Linked DNA regions of Homo sapiens: region 1 is linked to region 2. Evidence: promoter capture Hi-C in 16 types of primary human blood cells and fetal thymus (Javierre and others, 2016). All regions are on one chromosome and are shown on one strand. The core of a region is centred on a gene start or on the middle of the fragment in contact, and the rest is flanking DNA. Distances in the headings are between cores, read along the strand shown. Region 1 overlaps BPIFB1 (BPI fold containing family B member 1). Region 2 holds the start of SUN5 (Sad1 and UNC84 domain containing 5).

Evidence for each region. Contacts are between HindIII fragments. The CHiCAGO score rates a contact against its expected background, and 5 or more counts as called.
Region 1: a fragment that was not itself captured here is called in contact with the fragment with the promoter of SUN5 in region 2 in 5 of 17 cell types (M1 macrophages, M0 macrophages, endothelial precursors and 2 more); the score reaches 8.8 in M1 macrophages.

The regions. Positions count from the first base shown.
Region 1 is chr20:33,287,213-33,294,252 of GRCh38, reverse strand. It overlaps BPIFB1 (BPI fold containing family B member 1), which reads right to left. Exons shown (of 16, transcript NM_033197.3): 3 at 5,371-5,512; 4 at 4,261-4,368; 5 at 3,147-3,296; 6 at 2,265-2,346. Among named protein-coding and RNA genes, the nearest start is that of BPIFB1, 7.5 kb to the right of the region's middle. RefSeq lists enhancers at 2,196-2,245, 2,712-3,672, 3,673-4,633. The HindIII fragment of the contact is 8,984 bases long and covers 167-7,040 here.
Region 2 is chr20:33,002,672-33,009,157 of GRCh38, reverse strand. It overlaps SUN5 (Sad1 and UNC84 domain containing 5), which reads left to right and starts at 4,725. Exons shown (of 13, transcript NM_080675.4): 1 at 4,725-4,894; 2 at 6,239-6,297. The coding sequence starts at 4,818. BPIFB2 (BPI fold containing family B member 2) reads right to left here and starts at 1,454. Exons shown (of 16, transcript NM_025227.3): 1 at 1,398-1,454; 2 at 475-617. The coding sequence starts at 583. RefSeq lists enhancers at 79-1,073, 1,074-2,069. The HindIII fragment of the contact is 1,549 bases long and covers 4,446-5,994 here.

The sequences.
Region 1 (7,040 bases), core at 3,409-5,908, 290 kb before region 2:
TTGGGCTGAATCAGTATTGCTTCTGAAATTAACCTTTTAAGATCTTATTTGAGCTTTATTTAGTTTTTGATTATTCACTTATTTTTCCCTGGCCTCTTTAATATGTAGATATTTCGACTATTAAAATAATGGATCTTCCTTTGACTATACATGCTACTCTTAAGCTTTACTAGTGCAGAAGCAGAAGTTGAAAATCATAACTCCAGCTTATTAGAGAAACAAACGTAATAGTATATTGTACAGTTGATGTATATTTCACAAAATGGAGATTAAATGTTTTACTGTATTTTTCTTGAAGGTAAGGACATGGAAGCCAACTTGGAGAAAAATAAAAATCTCCATTGTTTTAAAGTACTCTTAATAAGAATCACATTGTTTATATAAAGCAGTGTTATTTATTTATTTAGTTTTTGAGACAGAGTCTTGCCGTCATGCCTAGGCTGGAGTGCAGTGGCACAACTGTGACTCACTGCAGCCTCAACATCCTAGACTCAAGCGATCCTTCTGCCTCAGCCACCTGAGTAGCTGGGACCATAGGGGCACACCATCATGCCCAGCTATTCTAATTTTTTATTTTTCTGTAGAGATGGGTTTCTCTGTGTTTTCCAGGCAAGTCGCAAATCCTGGGCTCAAGTGATCCTCCCGCCTCGACCTGCCAAAGTGCTGAGATTACAGGTGTGAGCCACTGGCCCTGGCCTAAAATACTGTTTTAAATATTGCTACTGTCATTTTAAAGTACTCTTAATAAAATCACATTATTTAAAAAAGGATTTGCTGGAATGTTTTCGTAAATTATTAAACCCAATGTACCTATTTAATAATTACAAGTATTGTATAATGACTTTGAAACATAGATCTGATTTAAAGGCTGACACCAAGAGCAGCCTCTTAAAAATACTAGTGCATGTGGATGGAGGTGGGAAGGCAATCTGCAAAAGATCAAAGCGCTCCTGGGTGAAAGTAAAAGGATTATGGATTTTTTTTCCCCAAATTTTTTCATTTATTACATCATCTTTTCAAAGAAAAAAGTCGCCAGGCACAGTGGCTCATGCCTATAATCCCAGCACTTTGGGAGGCTGAGGCAGGCGGATCACCTGAGGTCAGGGGTTTGAGACCAGCCTGGCCAACATGGCGAAAACCTTGTCTCTACTAAAAATATAAAAACTAGCCATGCCTGGTGGTGCTCATCTGTCATCCCAGCCACTTGGGAGGCTGAGGCATGAGAATTGCTTGAACCCGGGAGGCGGAGGTTGCAGTGAGCTGAGATTGCGCCACTGCACTCCCGCCTAGGCGACAGAGCAAGACTCTGTCTCAAAACAAACAAACAAAAACAAAAATCAAAGAAAAAAGTCTTATTCCAAGAAATATTAGCTATTTGACAAGGTGTTTTGACCCTAGATCGGGTGGCCCATTGTTACGAACACATCTTGGAATTTACAGTGGAAATCACTGGTTAATGTGGATGAATTCAATTTACAAAGTTTTAGTATACCTGTGACAAATAGGGGCAACTAAAATGAGAGTCACCTGTGTTTACTGACGCAGAAAAAAAATCCAACAGGACCTGGTGGGTGGTGCAGCCCTGAATACCACAGCCAGATTGATGTGTGACAGTGCCGTGCTAGAGCCAGCTTGTACTAGCTTTTGAGAACCAATTGTTAAATTTCCACAAATTTCTGAGCTGGGTGCTAAGCCCAGACATTGTTACAAATTAGACATATAAACTTACAATTAAATAAATTATATTAAAACAAATTTAATAAAAATTTAAAACGCATTGCTTCCTAATTAGTTTGCTGTATTTTACTACTATCTATTACTCCTGAGATCATGTTTATGTATCTGTTTAGTGGAAATATACAATCGTGTGCTATTGTATATCTTTTCCCAACTCTGTTCAGTGACATCACACTGGTCGCCTAAAATTGGCCCTGAAGGGAGTATTTCCACCAGGGAAATCCGCAAAAGCTACAAATCAGGTTTGCCTCCCTTCAACAACCCCTCCAGAGACAATTGCTAAAAATTTATCAGCACGTCACTGTTCACGGGCTCCTGGCTGACTTTTAGCAGTCCCATGACCTTGCCTGTCTGCCTGGGTCAATGGCCCACCCCACTCCATGACTCTTTGCTATCCAGCCCCAGATAATTCTTTCAGCAAAACCCACCCAAGGAGACTCCAGTCACTTAGCACCAACTTGCAGTTCCACCCAAGCCCCACAGGGGGCGCAATGCCCACAGGCCAGAGAGGCCCTGATTCCACTCACCTGGTTTTTCACTAGATTGGGCAGGGATGGCACTAGGAGGTTCATGACCTGCTTAGCTAAGGCGTTCACCAGGAAGGAGAGCCTTTCAGGGAAGAGAGCACGAGAGACATTAGGAAGGGTCAGAGATGATCACCCCTTCCTCTATTTTACAGAGGGGGAGGCTGAGTCTAAGGGAGGAAGGAACCTGCCCAAGGTCACAGGACGTGTTAGAGACGGGGCTGGGAGTAGCCCCTGAGCCAGGTGTAGGCAGTGGCAAAGAGTTATCAGAAAGCAGCGGCTGGGTGTTGTCATTGGAACTTTATGCTGGGCATTGGGATGATGGGAGCTGGCATTTCTCCCTGTCCTCCTGCTAAGAAGGGAAGGGGGGGCGCCATGTTTTTTGGCACCACCATGCGCGTGCACTGTTCTGAGTGCTTGATGGCTGTTGTCTGATCAGTTTTCTCACCACTGCCTGGAAGGTGTCATTACCTGCACTTTACGGGTGAGGAAAGTGAGACACAGGGTGGCCACTTGGCCATCATCACCCGGAGAGCAAATGAAGAGAATGTGTTGGCCTGACCCAAAGCCTATGTTTTTGCCCCTGGCTCCACCTACACCTGCCCTGGTGTTTGGAGGAGTTTCTAGGCCTCCCCCTTCAAAGATTTGCCCCACCTCCCGGTGTCATGCCTGAAACCCACCATGGTTGCTTCTGACCTTGATGTCCTGAACTTCCCTTGGCATCACAGATTCCCTGGAAGGAGCCCCAGATCAGGAATCAGGAGGGGATAAGTCCCTTTCTTTCTCTAGGCCTCAGCGTTCTCCATTTGTAAAATGGGGGAAGTCCACTGCCTGGCGTTCCTTCCAGGCAGGATGGGAGCCCGGCTGGTGGCCAGCGACACTCACTTATGCAGCAGTTGGATGCGCAGGCTCCCATGGCTGGTGGCACAGTCACTGAGGACCAGGCGGGTGGGGCCACTTGCACTGGTGTCCATGCGGATGGTGGCTTGGGCCTCAGTCGTCATGTGGAACTCCACGATGGTCTTGACCAGGGGCCTAGCGGGTGGAGGCACCTGACCATGTGAGCACCAGGCAAGCTCGGGCTGGAGCAACCCTGCCGTCCGTCTCTGTCTTCCAGCCCTCACCTCCTTCCTCAGTCTCCTTTGCTGGTTTCTCCTCATCTTCACCCAACTTCACCCCAGCATGTCCCAGGCTCAGTTTTCAGACTCCTCTTTGGTTGAAACGTCTTTCGTCTGCTGACAGCTTCCAAACTTACCCCCAGCCCCCTACTCCGATGTCTCACGGGCTTCTCAAGTTTAGCGCATGCAACACTGGACTGGCTCTTCCCCAGACCTGCTCCTCTCATGGCCTTGCCTGTCTTGGTTACTGACCACTCCATCCTGCCAGTGGTGCAGGCAGAACTCTTGGAGTCATCGTTGACTTCTCTCTCTTTCCCCCTGAATACACATGCATATTCAGTTCCCCGGGATATCCTGGTGTCCCCACCTACCTCCAAAACATATCCAGAATCCAATCAACTTCTCAGCACCTCCCTGCCCCAAACCCTGGTCTAAGCCATCATTATCTCCTCCTGAATTGTTGCAGTAGCTTTGGGATAGCCTTCCTGTCTCCACTCTTACCCCCAGAAAGTCTTTTTTCCCCACAGCAGCCAGGAGTCTTTAAAAATGTGAAAGCACAGCATATCCCTCCTCTGCTCAGAATCCTCCCTGGCTCCCGTCCTACTCAGCAAAAGCCAAGTCCTTATCTTCTCCCAAGAGGCCTTGTATGATCTGGCCTCGGCTGCCTGCTGGCCTCATCTCCTACCATGCCCCCTCTCTCTTTCCCCTGTCTTTGCCATTCTTTGAGCAAGGCAAGTACACTGCTGCCACAGGGCCTCTGCACTTGCTCTTCTCTCTGCTCGGAACTCTCTTTTCCAGACACCTGCATGGTGGGGGCGGGGGAGGGGGAACGAGCAGATGAGCCTGTCAAGCCTACTGTACTTGATGGAGGGGTCACTCACGTGTTGAATCCAGCCACCATGTCCAGGGGGATCTTGACTAGCAGCTCCTGGTCATTGGCCGAGGGCTTCACCTGCAGCTGGAGGATGTTAGCTGTGATGACCTTCAGCCTGGATGGGGTTTAGGAGAGATCAGAATCATGCCTCCGGCTCATTATTCCCAAATCCACTCCCTCTCTATCTTTTCCATCTCCCTGGGGTGCCTAGGCAGCAGCGGGACCCTGGCCCTGCCCACCGACTCCTCTCCAGATGGTCTTGCCTCCATCCCTCCCCTCCACTCCTGCTCACAATGCTATTATGGTGCCTTCTCTTCTAGGTGGTGACTCCCAGCTCCTTGAGCTGACTCATAAGACCCTCTGTGACCTGACCCTGCTGATCCCTTACTCCTTGCCTTGAGGTTTGAGCTCTAGCCATTCTGACCGACTGTCACTTCTCCATGCCTTTGCCCAGCCTGATTCTTCTACCTGGATGCCATTTGCTTCTTGTCTCCTGGTGAGCATTGAGTCATCGGCTCCACTGTCACCTCCAGTGAGAAGCATCACCTCATCCCTTCCCTGTGCCACCCCAGACAACCTTGCTCTGGGTTGTTTTTTTTTTTTTGTTTTTTTTTTTTTGAGACAGAATCTCACTCTTGTCACCCAGGCTGGAGTGCAATGGCACCATCTCAGCTCACTGCAACTTCCACTTCCCAGGTTCAAGCGATTCTCCTGCCTCAGCCTCCTGAGTAGCTGGGATTACAGGCTTCTGCCACCATGCCTGGCTAATTTTTATATTTTTAGTAGAGATGGGGTTTTGCCATGTTGGCCAGGCTGGTCTCGAACTCCTAACCTCAGGTGATCCACCCACCTTGGCCTCCCAAAGTGCTGGGATTACAGGCTTGAGCCACCGTCCCTGGCCTTGCTCTGGGGTTGTTGTATTAGGGTTCCTGTGTCACTGTCTTATGGTTCTTGTTAACTATTCTGGGAGCTTCTTGACGGAGGGGCTTTGTTTGATCCACTCTTTGTGATCTGACACAAGTCGATGCTTGCAGACTGGTTGACTGAGCATGCAGAGCGTGTCCCGGGCAAAGGTGTGGGAAGGGGCTAGCTCCTGGTGTGGTCCTGCTCCACTCACCAGATGATGTGCTTCAGGACGGTGTTCACCAGGCTGCCCAGCACAGGGATGCCTCCGGCTGGCTTTTCCCGCATGGCACTGAGCAGCGGCAGCTGCTGCAGGATGCTGGTGGCGTTGTGGTCCTTCAGCTCCTGTGTCAGCTCTGGAGGCAGACCCCAGGGATTAGGGCCCAGGAGGAGGGGCAAGAAGGAAGGCTTGGTGGGAGCTCCAGGCTGGGGAGGGGTATCACTCGAGGCTCCCTGAGGTAAGGCGAGGGTGTAGCCATCTCTACTGTGGTGGAGGTCAGGACCAGCCTGCCAGTCCCCACTGTGTAGATGTAGCCTTGAGGACAGTAGCCCAGATGGGTCGTTTTCACATCAGGAGCGAGGCTGGGACCATTCACACCCCTGAGCATTGCCAGCCTCTGTGGGGAGTGTCGGCCACTGCACTCAGCACCTGGACCTGCACTCATCCCCTGAGCCAGTTGCAAGCATTTCTAGGGCCAACAGGCAGGGAACCCTCAAAACTCTGTTTGGGGCTGTTTTGCTGCCAAAGCACACTTGTTAACAATTGTCTGGCATCCATATCCTATGGATGTGTTGTCCAAAAAGCCTCAAGTGCTGAGCAGAGGAAGAAGGAGCCAGGACAGAGGCATAAGTGTCAAGAGCCCTGGGTTCTTGTCCCAGCTGGCTTTTTGTGAGCAGCTAGAGCCCATCTGGCTCATGTGCAGAGCAGGTCAGAAGTGCTGGAGAGCTGATGCCCCAGGAGCAGACTTCAGCCAGTGATTGGTGAGAGTTGGTGTATCAATATCCCAGCTCCCTCACCCCTCAGGCAGGATGGCTCAGATGTGTGTCCCTCATTGTGTATCAGAGCTCCTGGGTTATAGCCTCTCAGCTGCAAATCCACCCACTTTGCCTGCTCTGTGGTAATGGAACTGGGCCCAGTGAATATTTCTTTTTTGCCATTTGGCACAGTGTTAAGCCCTTTCAGTGGAGACTCTGGAGGGGCATGGGGGGGATTCCCTTCATGGCTCTGGTGTGCTTCTCTTTCCAGGTTCCTATGGTGTCACTGCCCAGTGGCTTTTGCTGAGTGAGTTCTGCAGGCACCCTGGCTAGCTTCTAGGCAGTTCCCCAGAGACAGCTTCCCCGTGAGTTAACAGCAGCCCCCTTCCTCCAGGGGCAGCTTCCCAGAGAATTTTATTGGCCCCCTGGCAGGTAGTTCTCCACCCACTAGCGTCAGATTGCCAACTGTGGACCAGCTCTGGCCTGGGACAAGCCAGCAAACTTCTCCACCACACAGTGGGCTTCAACCACACCCTCTACAAAGAGGGCTGGGGAGGATTCTCTACCTCTGAACTTGCTCTGTCCTTGGCTACCCCCTCCATCCCTAGGTTATCCTTTAGAGCTCTGTCTGTTTTCCCTCTTAGCCAATTCCTCATTCTTCCAATCCCCTGGTAATACTTCTTTACATTAAACTTACCTGTTGGCATTTACTGTGTGGTTTCTGTCTCCTGAATGGCCCTAATAGATGCAGTTGCTAGGCAGGACTGAGCTTCAGTCGCCACAGTGGTAACTGGCTTGGACATGCACCCCTCATGGGATGCCTTTCCTTCCCTGCCTTGCCTCCCCACACTCCTGTAGGTGTTTCTGGGGTCACCTTCAAAACCAACCACTTGTACACAACTCCTTATA
Region 2 (6,486 bases), core at 3,476-5,975:
CCTCTCCCAAGAACACACGTGCGTGCACACACCACATACGCAAACGTGTACACCCAGGGTGAACAGCCGTACCTGTGCACACACATCCAGGCAGCATCATGGGCTTGCACCCTCCCCGACACTTAAGTACACACGTGGGCACAGCTCTATGAAATTTCAAACTCATAAGTAGACACACACAGGTAAAAATAGCCCCTCAAACCGACCTATGCCCACATCACCAAAGCATGTGAGCAAGTCACATGTGCACACTTGCACACTGGCCACATGACGTACTCCCCCCTCACGCATTTATGTAATAAGCATTTGTTGAGCAGCGCCATGTGTCAGGCACTGTCTGGGTGCCAGGGACACAACTTCCAATTAAAATCTGGGTCCTCATGGGCCTTTTGAGTTCACAGCTACGCACACACACTTAGGATTGCACACGCATGTACAGGCTCACAGACACTCACTGGGTAACACACCGCTTACCGTAGCTCAATGCTGCCTTGTTGAGTCGGACCACGGTGCCTGGCGTGGAGGCACCGACCACGGGCAGCAGCAGTGCCAGCAGCAGGCCCAGCCTACTTGCCCAAGCCATGGCTGCCCTGGCCGCTGCCCACAGGATCTGTGGGCTGGGGTAGAAATGAGCATCAGGGAGCTCAGCCAAAACAGCCCACCCCTGAGCCACCCGAACCCCACTCCAGCCTGGAGGGAACAAGCCCTGACTGGTGATCCCAGCCCTGCCCCAGGCCCACAGACATCAGTTTTTGCATCTCTGCATTGGGAACCATCACCTTGCCTTGCTTGCTTCATCAGGAATCATGGGGGAGTCCCTTCTGGAAATGACCCGCAATGCCCAGAGAAGAAATGGTCTTGCCTAGGGCCACACAGTGGACTGGGACCAGGTGCAGGACCCAAGCCATGGCATAGAAGGATGGTGAGACTCCCAAACGGGGAGACTGAGGGTAGTTTCCTGTCCCAAGAAGATGCCCAGGACTGTATCACCTGATGCCGGAGTCCAGCCCCGTGTGACAGCCAGCTTGGTGTCCAGCTGTCCACCAAATTCAGCCAGGGGAGGACCCAGGGTGGCTCCTGTCCTCATCCCCTCCTGGCCAGGTGGTAAATGGCCTAAGAGTAGGCCTCTCACATGGCCCCCATCCTCTCCTGACTCAGTCTGGCCAAATAGGCAGATCTGTGTCTGACTCAGGGAGAGGGAGCCAGGCAGGAGTGAGGGACTGCGGCTCAGGTGGGTCTGCTGAGACCCAGGATGGCGGCACTTGCCCAGGTCCTACAGCAAGGCCAGGGGTGGAAGGACCCTTCTGCAGAGGGTGGCTGGAGGTAGCATCCCCACTGAACAGATAGAGAAGCCAAGCCTCCTTGGAAGTGGTGTACCAGCCCAGCCCCATGCCTACCTCAGGTGGTTCCTGAGACAGGTGAACTCTCAGCCCCAGGGTAGCCCTCCTCTGCCCGAGGCAGGCAGATGCAGAGGCTACTTTATAAGGCTCCCAATGTGCAGAGTCCACTGGGAAGGGACCCAGGGAGCGGCGAGTTTGCTTGTGGTTGCAAGTGTTTTCCCTGCAAACATGGCCTTTGCCAAAGTGTCTCATCCCACATGTGCGCTGGGGCTGCCACGTAGCCAGTAGCCAGGCCCAGCTCCCAACCACTACAAGCCCCTGGGGCTAGGCAGCTATGGCCTTAGTGAGGGCCAGGAGATCTCTGGAAGGAAAGCTGCTTCTAGGAGGGTATCTTATCATGCCCAGCCAAGGCCTGGGAGGATGGGGCCCATGAGGACCCCATCCCCCCTCCCATAGGCAAGGGGATGGCTGCAATGACCCCTCAAGCCTGGTACCTCCAAGCTCTCTCGGAAACATGACCCTTTTAGGAGGGGCAGAAGGCTACCTGAGCACCATCCTCAGTCATTGACTGAGCCCTGACCCTGTCACATATTCACACACTGAGTCCTGACCCCAGTTACTGAGCTCTGACCCTGATCACATGCTGAGCCCTGATCCCAGTCACAAACTGAGCCCTAACTCAGAAGGGAACAGAAGAGAAAGTGTGCGTGACCTGTCCCCACAGCTTAACATCCCAGCCTCTCTCCAAATGCACATTCCACTCACAATGGATTAGTCCACGGTCTCTTTCCACATTACAAACGTCAGCCTCCGCCTTGGCTGGATGGGACCCAAGGAACTGTGTGTGCGCATGAAGGAATTTGCATATGCACATGTGTGGATGAGGGTTGTGTTGATACATGCATGTGAGTGTGTGTGCATAGTCACATGTACGGGGAAAATGTGTGCTCTTATGTGTGAGTGTGGACATGAAATGGGCACGTTGGCATCTTGGTTTATGGTGTTGTGTGTCTATTCACACAATCCAACAGGACCACAGAGGTGGGGAGTTTTGTGTACATGTATGCATGTGTGGGCTTGGCCTACTGAGTGTTTGTGGGTCTGTGAGTGTGTGGTGTTAGGTGCATGTGTGTATGCAAGTGGACTGTTTCCTGGGATGGGGAGGTACATGTATATATGTTCTTGTGTGTGTGCATATATGTGTGCACAGCAGGCGATGGCCTTTCCATTTTTCTTCATTGGCACAGGATGACTTGGGGCCTTTCCCCAACTCCAGGGCACTCTTTGACTCCCACTGACCCCACACCAGCCCAAATATCAGGCCCAGCTCCCAGGCCCACCCTGTGCTAGGCCTCCACCAGTGTCTACAAAGCTGACCACAGACACCATCAAGCCCTCCCCTGAGCAGCTGGAGCTCACTTGAACCAGCCCTGCCTCCCAACCAGTGCTCCCTTGCCCCTATTCTAGACGCAAAGAGGAATGAGAAGAGCCTGCTGTGAGCTCCCTGACACCCTGCTCCTGGCCTTGGTCTGTCCACCAATGCCCAAGACCGGCCCCTCCTGCGCCCTCACCATAGCTGATGCAAACAGCAGACTCAGTGGACAGAGGCGCAAATATTGACCAAACCCACTCTTGGTGTTTGCTGTTGGCCTGGACACTTCCTTTTCTTAAATATTTCCAGCACAAGAGCCATTTGGGTGACAGCCAGTAGACATAAAAGAGGGAGATTCTCACCAGCCCATCCCAGATCTCAACCGGCTCCTGACAGCAATGGCAAGCACCGTTTGGTGAGCACCTGCTATATGCAGAATGTTCTGCCAGCCACTTTGCCTGCATCCGCAGGGATGGGAGCTGGTTCTGCTCAGCCCTGTTTCCAGCACCTGGACCATACTAGGTGCATAAATATTTGTTGAATGAATAAATGAATGAGTATACATTTGAAAGACCCTTGTAACAATTGTAGTGGTGGCATTTCAGAGTTTCCCCTTCACTGAATATTCTCAGGGGTTTTGCATTGGTGTCCTGTTGCTGCAATAATGTATTATCACAAACTTAGTGACTTAAGACACAATTTATCATGTTACCATTCTGGAGGTCTGAAGTCCCAGATGGGTCTCCCTGGGCTAAAATCAAGGAAGTATTGGCAGGGCTGTGTTCCTTGCTGGAGGCTGTAGGAGAGGAATTGTCCACCTGCCTTTTCCAGCTTCTAGAAGCTGCCCTTATTCCTTGGCTCCTGGTCCCTTCCTCCATCTTCAAAGCCAGCATGTTGGGCTGAGTGCTTCTTGTGCTGCCATCTCCCTGCCTCCCTCTTCCATTTTTAAGGACCCTTGTCATTACATTGCACCCACATGGGTAATCTAGGGTATTCTTCCCATCTCAAGATCGACTGATTAGCAACTTAAATTGCTCTTCTAGTTTTAACTCCCTTTTGCCTTGTGACTTAACATATTTACATGTTCAGGTTTTAGTGTGTGGGCCTCTTTGAGGGACCATCGTACCACTTCCCATTGGTAATTAGCCTGCAATTTTAAGCAACTGCCACCAGGGGGCAAAAGTGAATTCATTTTAGCTTTGCTATCCAAATAGTCAAGCTCCCTACAGGCAGGGTGAACAGAAAAAACTTAGCCCGACATTTCCACTCGGTTATGCTTTTATTTTCCCCAGTAAAAAAGTAGAACTTTATTTTTGGACATAGAGTCTCACTCTGTTGCCCAGGCTGGGTGCAATGGCGCGATTTCTGCTCACGGCAACCTCTGCCGCCTCCCGAGTCAAGCAATTCTCAAGCCTCGGCCTCCCGAGTAGCTGGGATTACAGGCACACACCACCACACCCAGCCAATTTTTTGTATTTTTAGTAGAGAAGGGGTTTTGCCATGTTGCCCAGACAGGTCTCAAACTCCTGAGCTCAGGCAATCCACCCGCTTCTGCCTCTCAAAGTACTAGGATTACAGGCATCAACCACCGGGCCCAACAAAAAGTAGAACTTTATTAAAGCAACAACACATGCAATGTTATTTTGTGTTATGCACAATGTCCACCAGTGAGAAGCTCAGCATTACAAAATGCATTCAGGTGCAACCTAAGAAGGTGAAAAGCCTGGGAAGCTTGGGGCAGGAAGGGATCTAGGAAACAAGGAAAAGCATGGTTGGGTTACTGGAGCTTCAGCTCTCGCCCCTGTCCAGCTTCTGAGACCCCAGCATGGCCCTTCCTGTCTTGATGCCTCAATTTCCCCATCTTAAGAAAGGAAAGTGGGTCACAATGGCTTCCTCTGGGGGAGGTTCTAGGGCCAAGCTGGAGACTAGCCCCATCCCCTGCCCCTCCACCCACCTGCTCTGTGAGGTCACAATGCCAACTGCTCCACTGATCCTGGCAGATTCCACTTGGCACTTTTCAGGGGACATTCAGAGGCATCAGCCCCTTCCTCCTCACCAGCTCCCAGAGTTCCCATCTCCATCCCCAATCCTAAAGAAGGAAATCGATGCCACGGTCCTCAAGGAGCCCTGGGGACCCAGGCGCCCTACTCGAAGATGTGGCCCACAATCCCAGACCCCGGAGGTGAGGATGGCAGCCCCTCCCTTTGCCCAGCCCTTTACAGTTTACAAAATGCTGCCCCTCCACCCTGTCCTTGGAGATGAGTGGCATTGTCAACTGTACTGTACAGAGACAGCCACCAAGACCAGAGAGGTTTGGCAGTGGTATTCCCAAAGTCTCCCAGCCAGGAAGTGGTGAAGCAGCCATCCTTCCAGCACGCATTTATTGAGCATCTACTGTGTGCCGGGAAATGCACAGAGGACGGGGAACACGGTGTGGCACCAGTCTGATGTGCTCCGTTCCCTCATGGAGCTCACGGTCTAGTGCAGGAGACTGGTATGAAAGAAGGAAACAAGTATTTCGCCATCTTTATCTGTCAGAAAGCCTCTGAATGCAGGTGACAGAAATTCCAACTTAAAATGATGCCTATCTCTGGGCACCCAAATCTGGGTGTATATCCCAAGAGAGTATACCAAACAATCCCCAAGGGTGAGAAAAGAAATAACCAGGCTAGAATGTATGTCTTTCATCCTCTTTTAATTTATATTATTCAGGAATGTTACCATAAATCTGTACATTTGGGAAGGGTAAACAATGTATTAGTACAATTGGGTGTATATATAATTTATTAATAAACCAATATAAATACTCTGAGGTGGTATAAACAAAAATGTTTAAAGACCTTTGACTTAAGAAATAAGGGAAAATTTTAAATCTCACATATCAAGAGGTCCCAAGGTGCAGGGGGCTCCGGAGTGTGTTAATTCCTCAGTTCTGCCACCCAAGACCCAGGTTCCTGTCATCATTCTGCTCTTTTAGCCCCCTCTCATGGTCACAAGATGGCCACCACAGTTTCAGGTGTCACGCAGAAATGTGGCGTCTAGGGGAAGGAGAATAAGCATCGTTTTCTGTGGGTCTCATTTAGCTAATCCTAAACCTAACTTTTCCCCCAAGTCCCTTACCTCGTAACCACCCCCCTACCTCACCCTACCTCACCCCTGCAGACTTCCTCACCCTTGAACCAATCACAGCACAGGGAATGGGAGCACGACAGCAGGCTTCGACCAATCAAAATGGCCTAAAATCACATTGGGTAGGAGCAGACAAAGGAACAAAACCAAGCTTCTGCCAACCTCGGGGACATGGCGACAACCGCCTGTGACTGCCACAGCAACCTGGGTCTTTTCCTTGATGGATACCTGGATTTGGGGTCAGCCAGACCTGGGTCTGTCCCTGAATCACAGGCTGGTGGTGTTGGGAAACCTTCTCTGTACCTCAGTTTCCCAATCTGGAACGTGGTATGCACATTCCAAGGACACTATGTTCCTCATAATTGTAAAATGCGACTATGAATCTTATCATCCCCAGGATTGCCCAGCGAGGCCGGAACACCAGCAGGATGGCAGAGGACACCTCCCCAAACATGAGTGAGCAAGGACAGGTGCCCTGGTATTTTCATGGGCAGCTGAGGGGCTGAGGCTCAGGGATGTCAAACGGGCAACCTGGGGCTACCCAGCAAGGGGCAGGGGCAGGGATGTTCGCACCAAGCTCTGGGTGCTCCCTAGGTCTCTGCAAGCACCAAATCAAGAGGCTGGCAGTGACATGACAGTCCTGTG